Linked DNA regions of Homo sapiens: region 2 is linked to region 1. The links are contacts of gene promoters, found by promoter capture Hi-C in human tissues and cell types (Jung and others, 2019). All regions are on one chromosome and are shown on one strand. Each heading gives the region's core, a stretch centred on a gene start or on the middle of the fragment in contact. The rest is flanking DNA. Distances are from core to core; before and after follow the strand shown.

Region 1 (2,765 bases), core at 172-2,671:
CAGATGAAGTTATAAATTAATAACAGAAGGAAAACTGGAAAAGTCACAAATATCTGAAAGTTAAACAACACTCTTAACAACTGGGTCAAAGAAGAAATCAAGGTCAGGCACGGTGGCTCACACCTGTAATCCCAGCACTTTGGGAGGCCAAGGCGGGTGGATCACCTGAGGTCGGGAGTTCGACACCAGCCTGACCAACACGGAGAAACCACGTCTCCATATCTCTAAATATCAAATTAGCCCGGTGTGGTGGCGCATGCCTGTAATCCCAGCTACTTTAGAGACGGAGGCAGGAGAACCGCTTGAACCCAGGAGGCGGAGGTTGCGGTGAGCCGAGATCACACCATTGCACTCCAGCCTGGGCAACAAGAGCGAAACTCCATCTCAAAAAAAAGAAAAAAAAAGAAGAAGAAATCAAAAGGGAAATTAGAAAATACTTAGAAATGAATGAAAATAACACAACATACAAAAACTTATGAGCTGTAGTGAAAACAGTGATCAAAGTGAAATGTATAGTTGTAAATAACTACATTAAAAAGAGGGAAAGGCTGGGAGCAGTGGCTCACACATGTAATCCCAGCACTTTGGGAGGCTGAGGAGGGTGGATCACTTTAACTCCAGAGTTCAAGACCATCAAGTTTTACACTTACAAATGATTAAAGTAATAAACATTACGCATGTTTTACCTCAATAAAAAGCCCCTCACCACCACCAAAAACGAAAAGAATGGTCAAAAACCAGTAAACTGGATTGGCAAGGAAAAGAACTCTAGAAGGATCCTCAAGTTTTCCGGTCTGGATAGGAGATGAGATGAACTTGAGATCATTAAAAGGTACTTTCACATCAGGACAGCTGGAGATCTCGTCCATGTAGCTGCCTGGGTTGTGAATGGTCAGCATGAAGTAGGTAACGGAAGCCATGGGAGTGCAAGAGTTTGCCCTAGGAAGAACTCCAAGGCAAGAACCCTGAAAAACACATCCAAAAGTGAGGGGAGAGCTTTCTGCTCTTCGGGCTCCCGCGCGACGAGTCTACACCCCTAGGCTAAAAAGACTTACCAAAGTTTAAGTGCAGAGGAGCCCTTCAGGCCCAAGGAGGCAGCGGACCGTCTAGGCCCAGCTACAGAAGAGCCGCTGAGACGGGGGTCCCGAGCAGCGGGTCCCTGCGAGGCGCACAGGGCCTGAGCCACAGACGCTTACGAGCTAAGGCACCTCGGGGTAGTAGGCAGTGAAGCTAGTGCCCAGAGTACGGTGCCCTCCGTCTGCGCCCCGCCCACAACGCAGAAATTCCCTCTCGGGGCCCCTGTTGTCCTCCGAGCCTTCCGATTGGCGGAGAGGACCATGGGACCTGGAAGTTGTCTTTGTCCGGCCAGGGCTGCCCTTCCGGTTCCGTTGGGTCCCCCTTTGGCTCGGGTTCCTTGCCCCTCCCCCTTCCCGGAGCCCCGAGGGGCCGGAGCTCCTGGCGGTGCCGGATCCTGACGGCGGCCTTCCCCCGGGTCTGTAAGTGCGGAGACGGCCGGAGCGGCGGGCTGGGGTGCGGGGTGTCTCAAAATGGAACCCCCCTGGGGCCCTGGATCAACCGGGACCTGCACTGGGATGGGAGCCGAGAGGCTGGCCTAGGCCCCTGGGGACTTGAGGAGCCCTTGGCCCGGCCCACGCTGCGCCCCGCCCCTTTCCCTTCCCTGTGACTGGAGTGGGGAGCCTGAGGATGCCCCTGGGACCGCCTCATAGGACCCCAGCTGAGGGCCCAGCAGTTGGCTTGGGGGCCTGACTCTGGCATCTTATAAGAAGTGCCAGAGGTGAGGCCCTAAGAAAACGAGCCTCGGGAGCCAGCCCAAGACCAGGCATTCAGTGCCAGTCTTTGAGAACCACTGTGAGTGCTAGGTTACCCTTTTGCTGGGGTTTTCCCCTATTTGGCCACTGGTCGCAGCACCTTTTATATTACTGGCGCTATACCAGACACTGGAGATTGGCAAGATATTGTTCCAGTTTTCGGGATTAAGTTTGGGAGCCAGATCTGAACAAATAAGTACTCCTATGTGTATATATATGTATGTATGTATCAGTCACATATGTGTTAATTGCTCAAGGGGCCGTTGCTGAGAAGGCTTTAGAAAGAAAGTGATGTCTGAATTGTACTTGGAGAGAGTAAAGTGTTGAAGAGTTTTTCAGGGAAGACAGTTGCAATACTGTGGAGAAATGACTGAGCATAACTTGTGTGGGAAGAGGAGGAAATGGGGGGACTCCTATGCACAGAATGGATATGAGACTGGGAAAGTCGACCGAGGTCCAGATGGTGAATGGTGTAATCCTAAAGGAGATGGGTAGTTTTTTGAAGAGTTCGGAACAGAATATTGATATGGTCAGATTTGCACTGCAGGAAATCATTTTGTTCTGTAGAAAGCCCATAGAGAAGGGACTTTCTATTAACTGCATTTAGACATTTAGCTAAAAGTTAGGAACGCTTATCGGAGATTCTTTTGAAGGGGTAATGGGATCAGCCTAGTGAGAGGCAAAAAATTCCTGAAATAAGTTATAATGGTGTCATTGGTAAGGAGACAAATATACTGGAGATGATTATGTCAAGACTCCATAATTAACTGAATGCTGAAGAAGTGTGAGGGACCAAATCTAATTCTTAGGTTTTAGACCTCTGAGCTGAAGGATGGTAATGCCATTATCAGAAATAAAGCCATAAGCTTAGTGTAGATTATGAATTCATTTTTTGGACATGTTGAATTAAAGGTCTAATGAGACAGACACATAGAG
Region 2 (2,765 bases), core at 97-2,596, 46 kb before region 1:
TAATAAAAAGATTCTTATAGATCTATAAAATGGAATACTACTAAGCAATAAAAAGGAATAAACTACTAATACACACAATAACATGGACAAATCTCAAAAGCATTATTCTATGTAAAAGAAGCCATACACAAAAAGACTACATACTGTATGACTCCATTTACCTGGCATTCTGGAAAAGACAAAACTATAGGGACAGAAATCAGATCACTGGTTATCAGGGAAGGGGAATAAAGGTATGACTAAATAGATGCACGAGGGGACTTTTGGGAGTAATAAAAGTATTCCCCATCTTGACTGTGCTGGTCGTTACATGAGACTTTACATTTGTTAAAACTCAGGACTGTACAACTAAGAGGGTTGCATTTTATTGGTGTAAATTTTACCTCAAAAAATCTGACCTAAAATAAAACAGAAAAAGTATGATTTCCACAAAAGATGCAATTTGAGAACACAACTGTTCCTTTTTTTCTATGTACCCTACTAAAGGTGCTCATCCAGGATTCTGTCTTTGGCATTAACTTCACGTTATTAGACTCTCCTGTGCCACTGTATGGTATCTACTCCCAACAACAAACAATCTCAAATCTCTATCTACAATCCCTTCCTCAACTGTCTACTGGATAGAGACCTTCAGTTGGATACATCAAACTTATTCTGTCCAAAACTTAAGCCACTGATCCTCTTCCTGCTTTTTTTTTTCTTTTTGAGACACAGTCTCATTCTGCCGCCCAGGTTGAGCAGTACAGTGGCGCAATCTCTGCTCACTGCAACCTCTGCCTCCTGGGTTCAAGCGATTCTCATGTCTCAGCCTCCCGAGTAGCTGAGATTACAGGCATGCGCCATCACGCCCAGCTGATTTTTGTATTTTTGGTAGAGATGGGGTGGGTTTCACCATGTTGGCCAGGCTGGTCTCAAACTCCTGGCCTCAAGTATCTGCCCGCCTTGGCCTCCCTGTTGGGATTAGCAGGCATGAGCCACCGAACCCAGCCCTCCTGCATCCTTTTTTAATCAATGAGTTGCACTACCATTCACTCCATGGCCAAATTAAGAATTACAATCATCCTTGATTTCTCTCATTCCCATATAACTCACAAATCCTATTGACCCTTGTCTGTCCATTTTTCCCTTCTATCTTCTCTGCATAGCTAATACCTTAGGACAACCTCTTTCATTTTACGTAAGCCTACTGCAGTTAGTAGTTTGCCTGCCTTCTTTCTCTCTCTTCTCTTTCACATATGGCCACCATTCAACTTATAATTGCCAGTCTTAGTTGTGATCAAGCACTGCCTTGTTTTTAAATCCTTCCATGGTTCCTCAATGCCCACAAGATAAAGCCCAAATTCATAAGTATATCCTATTAGTCTTTTCACAACTCTGCTCAATCTGCCTTTCCAGTCACTTAGTCACAGCAAACTACTCAACTTTCCCAGGACCCACCATAAACTTTCAAGCACCCATACTTTGTATAGAGTGTTTCCTTTCCTGGAAAGTCATCCTCTCCTCCTGTGTATTCTTTAAGACCAACCTTAAATTCTGTTATCTCCTCTGGGAGATCTTAACCGTTCTAGATAGGATTTAATCACTCCCTCCTCAGGGCTACCATAATATTAGCATATATGTTTATTCTAGCATTGCTACTTGTTTTAGAAAATATTTGTTTAGAGAGTCCCTTGAACCAGACTGGGCAGAGACTGTTTGTTAAATTATCTTTATATCCCCAAAGCTTCAGATAGTGACTGGGACAAAATACACCTGAAATACATATTTACTGAACTGAATGTTACAAATGCAAAGAATGGAAGCCAAAGCAGTATGATTTTATCCTACTTGGATACTGAATATTCTACAAATTTTGGTTTAATTATAGAAAGGAAATCTGAATGACTTTAGCTTTATCTACTAAAATACAAAAACAAAAACAAATACCATCTGTTTTCATTATTCTGAGCAAGTGTCATTAAGGGCTAACATTTACAATAAGAACACTGCAAAGAGCCCAGTGCAAAACACAAACAATATATTTTGAAGTCCAACAAAGACTTCTAATGTAATTTAGCACAAATATGAAGACAAAAAAAGCAAAACAAATATTTATGAATAGTACAACTAAGAATTACATTTAGATTTGTGTTTATTTCCATGTACTCTACATTAAAAGGAACAGTTCTTTAGGAAAGTCCTGAATTGTTAAGGAAAACAATAAACATAAAAAGGCCAATTTAGCATTTAGCAGCTACTGTAAACATATGACATAAACGTTTGCAGGGATGGAGACTGCATGATGAATTGTTTATTCATAATTCTGCTTACATAGCAGGGTGGTACTAAAAAAAACTGGGCCCAGAGTTGTTTTGTGGCACAACTCCAAGAGGCACCCCATTCACAGCACAGATTATCTGAATGGCTCTCACTAGAACTGTAGTGTGCAAAGCCTATGCAACTGAACTTAGTAGCCATACTTGGACTCCCAAGTAAGACATATCTGGCTTTGGGACATTGCTCTGACATTAACTCTGTAACTGAGGGCAAATTAATGTCTGGGAGCCCCAACTGTCTCATCTCTAAAATGAGGATGTTAATATCTATCTCACAGGATTGTTATTAGGGTTTGATAACATTATTGGGCACTTACGTATATTTCAGGCACTGTATCGTGTGGTTTTTACAGAACTATCTCATTTAACTCTCACACCACAGTACCTGCCAAATAGCATCCAATAAGTGTTGGTATTCCTCCACCCCACTCTCAGCTCTTTCTAAAGAAA

Evidence for each region. The method cuts DNA at HindIII sites, captures the fragments that hold promoters and counts their contacts. A contact is called where the count stands out against the background at its distance.
Region 2: a contact is called between a fragment that was not itself captured here and the fragment with the promoter of ZBTB26 in region 1, in 1 of the 25 tissues and cell types used here (mesenchymal stem cells).

Annotation. Positions count from the first base shown.
Region 1 is chr9:122,930,168-122,932,932 of GRCh38, reverse strand. ZBTB26 (zinc finger and BTB domain containing 26) reads left to right here and starts at 1,421. Exons shown (of 2, transcript NM_020924.4): 1 at 1,421-1,496. It also overlaps a transcript of RABGAP1 not described here. RefSeq lists a silencer at 1,310-1,649. The HindIII fragment of the contact is 7,569 bases long and covers 1-2,765 here.
Region 2 is chr9:122,975,648-122,978,412 of GRCh38, reverse strand. All of the region lies in intron 2 of RABGAP1 (RAB GTPase activating protein 1), which reads right to left. Among named protein-coding and RNA genes, the nearest start is that of RABGAP1, 36 kb to the right of the region's middle. The HindIII fragment of the contact is 3,118 bases long and covers 1-2,765 here.